Linked DNA regions of Homo sapiens: region 2 is linked to region 1. Evidence: promoter capture Hi-C in human tissues and cell types (Jung and others, 2019). All regions are on one chromosome and are shown on one strand. The core of a region is centred on a gene start or on the middle of the fragment in contact, and the rest is flanking DNA. Distances in the headings are between cores, read along the strand shown. Region 1 holds the start of RNF166 (ring finger protein 166). Region 2 overlaps ACSF3 (acyl-CoA synthetase family member 3).

Evidence for each region. Contacts are between HindIII fragments. The study calls those that stand out against the background at their distance.
Region 2: a contact is called between a fragment that was not itself captured here and the fragment with the promoter of RNF166 in region 1, in 1 of the 25 tissues and cell types used here (dorsolateral prefrontal cortex).

What each region holds. Positions count from the first base shown.
Region 1 is chr16:88,703,345-88,709,591 of GRCh38, reverse strand. RNF166 (ring finger protein 166) reads left to right here and starts at 3,184. Exons shown (of 6, transcript NM_178841.4): 1 at 3,184-3,421. The coding sequence starts at 3,267. CTU2 (cytosolic thiouridylase subunit 2) reads right to left here and starts at 3,089. Exons shown (of 15, transcript NM_001012759.3): 1 at 2,994-3,089; 2 at 2,382-2,456. The coding sequence starts at 3,061. RefSeq lists silencers at 2,821-3,130, 3,171-3,450 and an enhancer at 3,072-3,709. The HindIII fragment of the contact is 44,302 bases long and covers 1-6,247 here.
Region 2 is chr16:89,116,605-89,123,881 of GRCh38, reverse strand. ACSF3 (acyl-CoA synthetase family member 3) reads right to left here. Exons shown (of 11, transcript NM_001243279.3): 7 at 2,969-3,081. Among named protein-coding and RNA genes, the nearest start is that of ACSF3, 26 kb to the right of the region's middle. RefSeq lists an enhancer at 5,067-5,361 and a silencer at 5,067-5,361. The HindIII fragment of the contact is 6,265 bases long and covers 865-7,129 here.

The DNA.
Region 1 (6,247 bases), core at 1,935-4,434:
AAGGCCAACCCAGACCCCATAAAAAAAGACCCACCACATACAGACACCACCTCTTGGAGGTGAAACGTGGAAATGGAGCGGGCCACAGCGAGGACCCACCATGCAGAGACACCACCTCTTTGGGGTGAAGTGCGGAAATGGGGTGGGCCACAGCGAGGGCTCAGTATCCTGGGGCCCCAGAGCTGGCATCTTTAGTGTGCTGGGCTCAACTGGGCCAGGAATGGCTAAGAGGCTCACTCACAGAGTGGCCTGGGCTCCTCCCCTAACCCCACAGAATCAGAACTTCCAGGCCTGGGAACTGCATTTTTAAGAGACAGGGTCTCGATGTGTCACCCAGGTTGGAGTGCAGTGCCACAGTTATAGCTCACTGCAGCCTCAAACTCCTCGATTCATGTGATCCTTCTGCCTCAGCCACCCAGGTAGATAGGACTACAGGTTACAGATATATGCCACCATGCCTAGCTAATTGTTGTATTTTTTGTAGAGACAAGGTCTCACTTTGTTGCCCAGACTGGTCTCAAACTCCTGGCCTTAAGTGACCCTCCTGCCTGGGCCTCCCAGAGTGCTGAGATTCCAGGTATGAGCCACTGCGCCCAGCTGTAATCTTTGTTCATAATAAACTTTCCAGCCATCTGACTCTGGCTCACTACGTCAGGGGTTCTTGGCCCTGGCTGTATGTTAGAATTGCACAAACCAATTAAGTCAAATTGTCTAGGGGTGAGGCCTAGGAGTCTGCATTTTAAAGCTCTCCTGCAATCCTGGCAGGCAGGGTGAAGAGCAGCACCCGGTACAGAGCGGACAATGCCACTGCAAGAGTCACCCTGCACCTGGGGCTCTAAGTCTCTTCCTTCCTGTCAGACACACTTGATGTGCACAGCAGTCCCTCCCTACGTTGAATGGATACCACGTACAAGAGGCCGAATGACCCCCCTGTGGTTCCTTTACAGACAGTAAAGCAAGTCTGTGTTTAACAGCAAGATGCCAGGTGAGGGACTGCAGGTAACTGGCAAGTATCAAGGCTGGGACATGGGAAGTGACCCCCAGGACCCAGCTTTGGGCGTGGGGAGTCTCATACAAGGAGACACAGGTGCTGGGCTTCACCTCCGCACTGTGGACCAGGAGAGCCTCTGCGCCCTACACCACCAGCTGGGATTCAAGCGTGGTGGGTCCACGTGTACATGCTGCGTCTGGGCTCCTGAAACCACGCTGTCCCCTGTGGGTCAGGGAAGGCCAAGGTTTCTCCCACGTGCTGACCTGAATGATCCCTGGGGATCCCAGCTCGATGTAGATTCCTAAGGCCTTCCCCTAGAGAGCCGGCTCCCCACTGTTCCTTGGGACCAGCAAGCACAGCAAAAGCCCTTCTGGCCACAAGGGCCTAGCATACAGCCACAGCAGCCTCTCCTCAGTGAATTCTGCCGGCAGCCTGGTGTTCTTGGCAATTTCAGATGCTCCTGGGTGGTTAAAGAAGTACCTATCTTGGCCAGGTGTGGTGGCTCATGCCTGTAATCCCAGCACTTTGGGAGGCCGAGGCAGGTGGATCACTTGAGGTCAGGAGTTCGAAACCAGCCTGGCCAACATGGTGAAACCCTGTCTCTACTAAAAATACAAAAACAATTGGCCGGGCATGATGGCAGGCACCTGTAATCCCAGCTACTCAGGAGGCTGAGGCAGGAGAATCACTTGAACCCAGGAGGTAAAGGTTGCAGTGAGCTGGGATCATGCACTCCAGCTGTTGCACTCCAGCCTGGGTGACAGAGGGAGACTCCATCTCAAAAAAAACAACAACAACAACAAAAAAACCACGCACCACCACTGGGAATTAAGAGGGCTAAAAGGAGAGAGACCTGGTCCTCCCTTCAGGGAGCTATGAGTCTAGTGGAAACAACTGAACAATACAATGGCTACAAGCCAAGAAAGACATGACAAGCGCCTGGGGGAAAGCTAGAGGTCTTCCAAGCCTCTATCCTGCCACAGATGAAACAAGCATCTCACACGAGATTAAAAACTTTCACCCAGACCATCTGCCAAGTTCCCAAGATGCTCTGATCCGCCCCTAGATGTATTCCAGCTGCCCCCAAACGCCTGGTCCTCCTACAGCTTATCCCAGTCTAGACACCACGGCCCCACTTCCAACTGTCCCCATAAGTTCCATCAGAAACCTCATCAGGGGATCTGTGGCTAGCTCATGGGAAACTTTCCCAAGCAGGAAACCAATGCTTTCGCCTCCACTTCAACACCAGGGGCACGAGGGACCCCATCAGGAGCAGGAATAAAGTAAGTACATGTTTTTAAAAAGAATTAACAAAGCATCACAAGTTGCGGCTATCCTGTCTGCTAGCGAGGCCATGTTTGCCAGGGTCTCAGCCACCTCCAGGCCTCACCTGCAGAAGGCATCTCCGGCTCGTATCACCACAACGGGCTGCGCTTCCTTGCACTTCACACACTTCTGCTCACGGCTTTGGAGATGGGAGGGGGGAGAAGAGAGAAACACAGATCACATCTTCCCCACGCCTAGTGGGCTTTGGGGAGACAGCTCCTGTTTCTCACCCTGAGTTGGGTCAGAGAAAGGCACCTCGGTACACACACAAACCCAGGCTTGTGTTCTGTCCAAACTTCAAGAAAAACAAAGGCTCTGGGGGGATGTTTAGCCTAGAAAAGCCGGCTCAGGGGGCACATAAAGGCCGCTTTTCAGTCTCCCAAGGCTGACACGGGGAGGCGAGACAGCTTCACGGCACCAGTTCTCTCCGAATAAGGACAGCACTGTCAGCGGCAGAGCCGTCCCCAGTGGCTGCTAGGATGAGAGGCGCGAGCCAGTGGAGTAAGTCCCCTTCTAGGTGGCCGTCACCGCTTGACAGGCATTCCCCGAGTGCTAGGGAGCGAGGTCCCGCTCTCCACGCGGGGCTTCCCGGAGCAAGCCCGGCCGGGACCCTTCGGGGCAGGAGTGCGGCGGGAAGGCGAGGGGCGGCCTGGCGGGTCCGGCCGCCAGCTCTTACCTGGGCCGCGGCGCCGGGGGCGGCTCCTCAGGCGCCGGCTCCCCGTAGTCCTCGCCCACCTGACACATGGGCACGCCGGGTCCCGTCGCAGACTGTGGCGGCGACAGCGCGAGGGCGCGCCCCGATGACGTCGGAGTGGCGCCGTGACGGCCGCGAAGCCCGGCTGGGGGCGGCGCCCTACGATGACGTCAGCGCGGCGCAGTAGCGGCTGTGACTAGCGGGCCGGCCCGGGCCAGGACAGCGGGCGGCGGGCGGCGCGGGCCTGGCCCCGGGATGGCTATGTTCCGCAGCCTGGTGGCCTCGGCTCAGCAGCGGCAGCCGCCGGCCGGGCCGGCGGGCGGCGACAGCGGCCTGGAGGCGCAGTACACCTGCCCCATCTGCCTGGAGGTCTATCACCGGCCCGTGGCCATCGGCAGCTGCGGCCACACGTGAGCGCGCCCGCCCAGGGGCCGCGGGGAGGGGGCCGTGCCCCGCCGCGGGAGGGGTCGCGAGGCCGGCGGCCGCCCCGGTGCAGCTCCGGACTGGGCGCGCGGGGACTCGGGGCGCCGGGGCCTCGGGGCGCGTGGGGTCCGGGTTTCCCTGTGCCGCGCCGCCTCTGCCCTCTGGGCGCGTTCATCCCCCGCCCAGCCTCCTTCGCGCCAGCCGCAGGCGCCCGGTCCGACTGCTGCTTCGGTTCACCGGGCGACCTGCGGCCCTGCCCAAGCTCGGGGTCCCCGGCGGCTGCGGCGGGCGCTCCGGTACTCAGAGGGCAGCAGGTGCCACCGCTCCGCCAGTGGTGGTGGATTTGGGCTTGTGCGGCTGGAATGGGCAGTTGTAAATAAATAACTTGTAGTTTTTGCTATCAACTCTTGTTCGGACCCGCTGTCTGCCTGTTTTGACTACAGAGGAAAGGAGTTCCCTAAAGTTTAGAGGGGCTTGTTTGGAGTCTGATGTTCTTAGTTTTGTTTGAAGGAGAACTTGAGTCACACCGATCACTGAGTAGCCAGGCAGGCTGGTCCACAGAGGAGCAGACACTGACCACCTTGCTGGGGTTTCCAGCTGCACCAGGGCTCACAGCCGGCTCCTCCAGGGTGTTTCAGGAACAGAAACTGGAGGACGTGGCTCTCCTGGCGGGGAGCTGTGCTCAAGTATTCTGGAGCTGCCAGCCCCGTTGGGAGGAAGCCTAGATCAGTGTCTGCTCCCTCCTAAGTGCTGAATAATACAGCTCTTGAGCAAAATCAGCAGTGGCAGGGGAGAGAGAGAGCAGGAGGGCTTCCCCGCAGACATCCAAGCTGCTGAGGTGGTGGAGTGGAGGGGGGTGCACCCAGACTGGTAGGAGGCTCTAGAACATTTTGCAAGCAAAGTCAGCTGACTTCAGGGGCTCCTGGTACAGAGGGAGCTGGGACTGCTAGGTGGATGTGTGCTGGTCACCCACGGAGGTGGCAGGGCCAGTGTCAGGATGCAGAGCTGCCTTCATTACCTGTGTCAGGCAGCACAGGCGCCTGCCCACGCTGGGACAGCTCTACCTACTTCTCTTGTGAGGCTGCTACAGGCTCTGCCCCTGCTCCTCCATCTCACTTAGCCGTGACATTTTGGGGGGGCAGCCTCTGAACGGGAATATTTTTTTTTGAGACAGAGTCTTGCTCTTGTCACCCAGCCTGGAGTGCAGTGGCGCCATCTCGGCTCACCGCAACCTCCATCTCCTGGGTTCAAGTGATCCTCCTGCCTCAGCCTCCAGAGTAGCTGGGATTACAGGCACCCGCCACCACGCCCGGCTAATTGCTGTATTTTTAGTAGACAAGGGGTTTCACCATGTTGGCCAGGCTGGTCTCGAACTCCTGACCTCCGGTGACCTGCCCGTCTCAGCCTCCCAAAGTGCTGGGATGACAGGCGTGAGCCACCGCGCCTGGCAGGACTTCCTTCTTGTGAGCAGGTAGCGGGTGTTTGAAGGTGTGTTCCGCACCTTCTCATCTGTTACTGAGCGCTGTGAGGCTTGACTTAGGCCTTGTTTTAGAAAAGCCTCCCGTAGGCTTTGGGTGCCAACACCTTCACCGTGTGGTCGGCCACAGCATCTCCACTTTCCTAACCTGCACAAATTGGTCTTTGCCCTTCTTTTTCAAATATGTCTTTTCCTAAAATGTAGTTTCCATAACACAGAATGCAGAACCACATGGAATTGTGGAGCATCTTTCCTATAAAACTCCCCTCTGCCATGCTTTTCTTGGTAGAATGACGACCATCCTAGTCTCACCGCGGGTCCTGCAAGAGCTTTTCACACAGCCTTTGCCTTTCAAAGATTTTTCTCCCCGACTTTTCCTGCTGGCTTTTGTTTTCTGGCTGTTCTCTCTCTGCTTCTAACTTTGTTTCTTGTTGGTGTTGCTAAGGCATGCATGCAAATGACCACAGAAAGTTTAAAGGCTCTTCAGGTTCCCTTCGGAAGTTTGTTGCTGGTCTGGTTCTGTCCCCTCCGCAAGCTCCCCAACCAGAGCAACTTCCTCCTCCAGGGTAGATCTCTCATGGCAAGAGTATCCCAGTGTGGGGGCATGCACCCTGCTCTAGCCCTCGCGCAGGAGGCCCCCTGGGGGCCCAGCAGGAGCTGTTCTCAGCCAGGGGACAGTCTGAGCAGTGAGCCACCTCTGTAACCAGAAGCCTGTGGGCCAGGACACGCGTGATCACGAACCTGCCTGGAAGGGCTGTGTGAGCAGCCTCCACTCGTGCAGGACAGCTGTGGGGCTTGCTGAGGGTGCTGGCCTGCCAGCCAGGCAGATCCCTGAGGCACGGGCCGTCCCAGCTTCTCAGCTTGTGCAGCGGCCAGTGTGGGAGACACATTGGCAGTCCCGGGTGCCTGCTGGGAGGGCCAGTGCGCGATCGCCCCTCCCTTTGTAAGGCTGTCGACGCCCCCACACCCATCGCCCTCAGCCACTTCCTTCAGCTGAGAAGCTGCTCAGCACCAGCCCCTGGGTGGGCGCAGACAGGAACTTCCTGTGGGGGAAGCGGGCACTACTCCCGGCTGCTGGCTCTCTGAACACCAGGCTGGCAGTCACTGGAAACTAGGCCGATAGAGCACCCACCCTGTGGGTGCCTCGTTCTGCCTCCTGCTCCTCGGGCCCAGCCGCCCTGCCAGTCGGGCTGGGTTCCCTCTTGTGTCTTTCCTGAGTCCTTCCGGGGAGGACGAGGCTGTCTTCCTCCCAGCCAACCTTCTGGGCACCTTTCCTCTCTTCCCAAGCTCTGCCTGGGACCCTTTTCCTTCCCCTCAGCCCGTGGCCGTGCTGTGC
Region 2 (7,277 bases), core at 2,748-5,247, 410 kb before region 1:
TGAGGGAGTGGTAGGAGCCAGCCCCTCAGCGAGGTGATGGAGGAGGCTGAGCCCTGGGCCTGGCAGGCCAGCTGCCACCTGGGGAGGGTCCAGATACTCTGGCCCCGGGGATGATCCTGGGAAGGTGTCCTCCCATCCCCACAGGGCACATTCCTTTCTGCAGGTACTTTCTGTTTCCTGACAAATATGACACCAAGCCTCTTAATTCAGCTCTGAAGGCCTGGCTGATCATCTGCCCAGGAACAGTCATGAGTCACTCCACAGGCCTAGGGATGGCCATTCTCATGACTAGTCCTGAGGGAGACCTTCTGGGGAGGGACGCTGGCCGGGACCCACGCCTCGGCACAGACAAGAGTGGATCGGACAGCCCAGCTGTCGGCCACAGCCTCACTTGAGCCACGTGGATCCGGGACCGTGGTAGTGAGGGGCACCCTCGGGTTCTGGGATGCTGTGGAGAGAAGGGCTACTGCGTGAGACTCAGATGAAAGTACCAAGTGCGTCTGCGAGTGTGAGCGTGGGGTGGGGAGTCCCTTCACATGAGAGAGCAGCAGGTCTCTGATGCTGGGGCTTTTCAGAGTTCACAGCGCCCATCATCACCTGGTTGTCCTGGGGCGCCCACCCACCCCTCTGGGAGCCCTGAATCTCAGGTGTCGGAGGGCACAAACCCTGAGGCCCTCAGGCTGTGCTCCTCCCCACGAAGGGTCTTGGCCCCTGGTGGAGCCAGGCCCCGCAGGGCAGCTGTACTCCACCTGCTGCACCGACTCCTTGGCTGAACTGGAAATGTTCCCGGGCCTGCTGTCAGCAGATGCAAACCCCCCGTACGCTGAGATTTAAGCAGCCCCAGAGCATCTGTGCGGCTTCACCTTGCAGGGTCTGCCTGCATGCCTGTCGCAGAGGCCCCTGTGCGGTGTCTCTGACTGTCAGGGTGCCCAGGTAGCTGAGGCTGCTGCTTCTATTTCAAGACTGCTTCAGGGAAGAAACCAGCAGACACAAATAATTAAAGAAACTCAGGCAGGAGCAATCAGGTGGCGCGGCAGCCAATGCAGGTGTGAAGCAGTTAAGTTTTGTTTTAATTTAAGACAGAAATGCTCCCCACCCCCGCTCCGCCCCTTTCTCTGGCAACATTTCTGCCATTTCCGGCAGAGCAGGTGCTCAGAGGCAGGAGTGTCAGCTGACTGACACCTGGAGAGGGCTGCACAGCCACGGGGCGTCTCACTCCTCCACACGCCACTCACGTTCTGCTCTCTGCTGGGGACATTTCTGACTAGATGGTGTCCCCAACCCAGGCACAGGCTGAGCCCCGTCCCTGCAGACAGGGTTGGAACTGGCTGAGCTGGGAGGTCCTCGAGTTGGGGGCAGGGGCACTGCAGGGCACAGACTTGAGAGCCAGGAAGGGCCGGTGTATTCAGGAACCTGAGATGTGGGGTGTGGCCAGCAGCCTAGTACCAGCAGGGCAGAGGCAGGAATCCCAGGAGAGGCATGTCAGGACAACAGCATGGGCTGGGGCCCTACAGAGGGCAGGGGAGGTGGGTATAGCAAGGGGCAGCCACCCAGGTGGGTTTCAGCAAGTTGCCCCATGGCTCTGTGGGGGCCACAGGGATAACAGCCCACTGCGGGGGGCCCAGGCCAGGCGGGACACACTGTGCGGCCCTCCACACAAGGTGCGGCCACTGCAGGTGGCCCCAGGTGAGAGGTTTCCATGGGGAAACAGAATACCCACTTCAGGGCCACGGGGGATAACAGCCCACTGCGGGTGGCCCAGGCCAGGCGGGACACACTGTGCGGCCCTCCACACAAGGTGCGGCCACTGCAGGTGGCCCCAGGTGAGAGGTTTCCACGGGGAAACAGAATACCCACTTCAGGGCCACGGGGGATAACAGCCCACTGCGGGGGGCCCAGGCCAGGCGGGACACGCCGTGTGGCCCTCCACACAAGGTGCGGCCACTGCACCTTTCAGTGTCATTTAATGACACTGAAAGCCACCCACATCCTACTTGGTTGCTGGAGCTAAAACGTCCAACCACGACCATCGCTCCAACCCTCACGTGGTCATGTGTGGAAACCAAGGTACAAGGAGGGCGTGTGGCTGTTCACTCACGAGAGCAAGGCCCACGGCCCCTCAGCCTCTGCACAGGGAGCTCAGTTGTGCCCGTGAGGGCCAAGATGGTGTCACAGAGAAGGAAATGCACAGAGATGAGACTCAGGATCCCTCGATCTTTGAAAACCTCAGGGCAACACAGTCAATCATGTGTGGTATCAGGTGTGGATACTGGCTTCAGAGAAAATAATTTCCTTTTAAATCAAGATTCCATTTCCCCATAATCCCTAAACCTTTCTCTGTGATGAGTTCACGTGTGATGAGCAGACTCTCATGTTAAAATCCTCACAGAAATGAGACAATGTCCTTTGTTCTTGTTCACCCTTGTCAGCTTTAGAATAACGCACAAGACAAGGAGGCAGCCACAGAGCACTGCACAGGCACCCACCTCCGCGTGCAGGGCCCCGTGAATCTCCCCACACCTACTATGGGGGCCTGTGGTCAGCGTCCCCTCAGGACGGGTGCCAGGGTCAGGCCAGTTCATATTTCTAACCAGATTCCCATCAACAACAACGGCCTCTGCTCTTTATCTCTTCCGCTTAGCCAAGGCCATCATGGCCCACGTCAGCCTGTCCCCGTGGACAGGGCCCCTGGGAGGAGCTGTGTGCCCGGGTGTGAGTCCCTTTGGCGTTCCGCCCTGGGCTCCCTCTGCCCACTGCTCTGTGAACGCACAGACGGACACGCAGCAGGCAGGGCCCAGAACACCAGCCAGTGCCCTTGCAACACCAGCCAGCACCTGCAGTGTCCAGGGGGCTGGTCCCCTGCGTGGAGGGGAGTCTGCCTCCAGGGGAAAGATGCACCAGTGTAACCACCCTGGGGGGCCTAGACTGGACACACGGCCGCCCACCTGCCAAGAGCAGAGTGGCTTACCTTGGTCCCCCTCTCGTCTCCCTCTGCGTGGATGGTGTAGGAGCAGGCTTCCCTCTGTGGGTTTTCTGAGACAATGCGCACCTGTACTCCAGGCAGTGGGGTCCCCACGGAACCTACAGGAGAGGAGAAACACTGAAGGGGAGGCTGGAGTGAGAGGAACCTGGAGGAGAGAAGCACACACTGAGCTCGGATCCCGCTGAGCTCCCGTGTGCCACGTGCGGGAGTCTGTGTGGAGGGAGCGACGTGCCCTGTGACCCAGAGAGAAGATGGTGTAGGCACCAGCAGGTGAAAAGCCACACGATACGTGGCTGGCAAGCACGGTGTGCTCAGGCCCAGCCGATGCCACAGTGATGGCCATGTGGCACAGCAGGCACTCACGTGGCACGCTGGGCCTGGCCTGCCCTGGGCCCCTCATACATCACTTTCCCAGTTACTTCCCAAAGCCTCACAGCTGCCCACAGATTCTGGTGTCATTCCCACTTTTACACACTTGCTGGCCAGGGAGGGCTGGCGCCTTGCCCTGATGGCCCCGGGGCTGTCCACGATGAGGGGACCTGTGTGTGCCCGGCACACGACGGGCTAAGGCAGGATCTGCCCTATGTCCCCAGGAGGGGCTGTCCTGAACTCTGCATGGCAGGTGGACCACACTTTGTACTGGCTCATTTATTAGACACCCATGATTTGCTCAGTGTATCCATCCCACCTGCACAGTCTCAACGTGGCTAAAATCATATCTTACACTGGCCGGGGTGGGGGCAGAGCCCAGGTGGCGAGACGTGTCCCGCCGGCACACGCAGGGCTGCCGCAGCCTCGCTCTGCCTGTGGTTTAGGTTGCTGGTGGGACGGCAGAGGCTGCTCATGGAGTGCGGCCCTGGCGATGTGGCGTCAGCACGGGCATGACCTAGGGGCAGAGCAGACGTGGGACTTCCTGTCTATCCCGGGGCGTGAGGCCTTTGCCCTGGCCTGCGTCAGGGGAGTGCCTGAACGCTTATCATGTCTGAGTCCACGCTGAGATTTCCGGCACTTCAAGGGTCAGCATCGAGGGTCAGTGCAGTGAACTCTGCAATCCATGGGGCGTCCCGGCCTCCAGACGCTTGGTGAGGGGCTGTCGGTGCCCGGCTCGGTCTTGCTGATCCTGCTGGGCCTGTCCACACCTGGGGTCCTGCAGGCGAAGCCGGGCTAGTGTGGTGTGCGGAGTGTCACCTCGGGAGTTCTCTGTGGTTCCAGGTATGCAGACGCCCCGAACCTCCACTCTGGTCAGAAACCCGTGTCACCACTATGGGGGGTGTGGCGGGGCCAGCTTCAGCCCCCTTTCTTCCATCCTTTCTCCTCCTTTATGTTTTGCTTCTGAAGATTTTTAAATGGGGGTGAAACCCGCATAACACATGACTTCCCATTTCAGTGCGCGGCACGGCGGTGTTCCGCACACACATTGCACAGCCCCCCACTTCCCCTAGTCAGAACTCCCGCACAGCCCACGACCGCCACACCCTCCCTCCCCAGACCTGGCACCAGGTCTGCTGTCCGCGTCCGTGGTTTTTCTGTTCTGGGCGTTTCATAAGAAGAGGACCATCACAGGCGGCCTTTCGCCTCTTCCTGGTGATGCCTCTACTGGGGCGGGGACGCAGCGCAAGGACACGGCACGGCTGGGGTAGGGGCGGGGGCCGCAGGTGGGGAGGCCGTGTGGCCGTCCCACACCATCTGCAGAGGCTGAAGAGGCTCTGGGATGGTGTCTGGATTCTGCAGCAGCCAAGCAGTGGTATTGTCCATGAGAGCTCAAGGAGTGGCCCCCACACTCCAGGTGCCGCCCGTGAGAGCTTCAGGGAGGGGCCCCCACACTCCAGGTGCCACCCATGAAAGCTTGAGGCAGGGGCCCCCACACTCCAGGTGCCACCCGTGAGAGCTCGAGGGAGGGGTCCCCACACTCCAGGTGCCGCTCGCTGTGCCCCGGGCATGTGACAGTGTGGACATGAGAGCTCAAGAGAGTGGACAGAGGCTGGCCCCGCAAAGGCCAATGTAGATGGGAGCGCAGCTGCAGGCAGGTGGGGGGCACTGCCTTCCTGCCACAGCCCACCTCTAAAATCGCTGTCAGCCAGCCCCTCCCTGATAACTCTGACTGGGGACTGGGACCCAGGGAACGGAAACCGCCAATGAGGCCCTGGAGCTCCCTGTCAATGCCACAGAGTGGCCCAGGAGCCGTGAGCACCTCTGAGCTCAACCTCCAATTAGAGTGTGACGAGGCCCAGCAGTGGTCGGCCATGAATTATTCATCTCCCTCCACAGGAACCGCACGGAGCAGGCCTGTAACCATAACACACGACAGAGCTCACCCTCCACCCAGCTTCTCTCTCTTCCGAGCACGGACAGTGCACTGAGCAGCGAGGCCAAGCATGAGCTCAGAGCCTGTGGCTGGAGCCGACCCAAGGGTCAAGGCCATGGCCACCAGGGTGGGGGTTAGAGCCTGAGAGTGAGGAAAGCTCTCCTCCACCGTGCCCTCTAGAAACATGGCTCAGGAGGCTGCATTTTGGAGTTTTTGTGGGGCATATTGGATTTAATGCTGAGGTGACTTTACTTACTTTTTTCCAAACCAAAGAACTCACACTGCTGGTGATTTAAAGGCAAGGATAAAATCACAGATATTTGATTCTGCCTTAGAGAAGAGGGAGCGTCCCCGGCGCCCCAGGGAAACTGCCGTATGCTCTGCCTTAGAGAAGAGGGAACATCCCTGGCGCCCGAGGGAACCTGCCGTCAGGCTCTGCCTTAGAGAAGAGAGAGCGTCCCCGGCGCCCGAGGGAATCTGCCGTGGGCTCTGCCTTAGAGAAGAGAGAGCGTCCCCGGCGCCCGAGGGAACCTGCCGTGGGCTCTGCCTTAGAGAAGAGGGAACGTCCCTGGCGCCTGAGGGAACCTGCTGTGGGCTCTGCCTTAGAGAAGAGGGAATGTCCTTGGCGCCTGAGGGAACCTACTGTGGGCTCTGCCTTAGAGAAGAGGGAGCATCCCCGGCACCCGAGGGAACCTGCCGTCGGTAGCTGAAGACTCGGGGATTGGTGCACTCAGGTTTCTTGCCCAATAACCCTGAAGCTTCAGGGTCTCTGGATCCCCCTCCTCAGCCGGGGACTCCTCTCCCTGTGCCATCTGTCTGGGGCTCCTTCCTGTTCGCCTAGGAGTTCTGATTCCAGCGTGGGGAAGCTGAGCCTCCCCTGGGTCTCTGGGCTACTATCTGCTCCTTGGCGCCCTCGGTGTGGACGGCGGTCCCTGGGCTGCTCCTTGGCGCTCTTGGTGTGGACGGCGGTCCCTGGGCTGCTCCTGACGCTCTCAGTGTAGACAGTGGTCCCTGGGCTGCTCCTGACATCCTCGGTGTAGACAGCAGTCCCCGGGCTGCTCCTGACTCCCTGGGTGTAGACAGTGGTCCCTGGGCTGCTCATGACTCCCTCGGTGTAGACAGTGGTCCCTGGGCTGCTCCTGATTTCAGCTTCTCAGCCTTGTATCTGTTCCAGTAAAAAAGGCTAGGGGGGCACTGTCCATCTTCTCTAGTGAGGGCCATTGAAGAGGTCACCGTGCTCCTGGGAAGTGCATCACTCACCAGCCGCGTGACCGTGGGCAGGCTCATGGGTTCTTGTATGTGAGTGCAAAATATGACCCCATCGCAGGGGCTGTTTCGAGAAGATCAAAAGAGAGGACGCCCACAAAGCAATGCTGTGGATGAACAGTCATCATGAACTACAAACTGTGCAGACAGATTCTGAATACACAGAACTTGTCCTGCTCACATGTCCGGAACAAAGAGAGGACAAAGCCCAGAGCCCGTTACCCTTTCAGTCCTCACTTGCCTGCAGCCTGCAGCCTCAGCGAGCCGGGCTTTGCTCATTCCGTCCATATTACGTGGTGACTGTGGCCGGTGGCACTGGACAAAACCAGCACATCCTACTAAGAAGGACAACGATAAGGACAGAGACTCAACAGACCAGTCACATTTGATTTCAAGGTCCCCATCTTATTTCCACCAGAGAGCTTTAGCCACCGAAGAAACAGCTGGTGCCGCAGCCATCGTGGAGATGCGCGAGTCAGCCCAGAGCAGGGGCCGCTAGCACTGACGGAGGTGGAGGTTTCCTGGGGTCTGAGACTAACGCGGGAGCCGGCCCAGGGCAGGGGCCACCAGCACTGACGGCGGTTTCCTGGGGTCTGAGACTAGGATGTATTTCTCATCACTCACACTGACTTCTTTTCACAACATGCCCCCACCCGCCCACTGCCCTGGGCACTGTTGCAGCAGGCACTGCACTCTGTGCGGCCACCCCACTGGCAGCTCTGC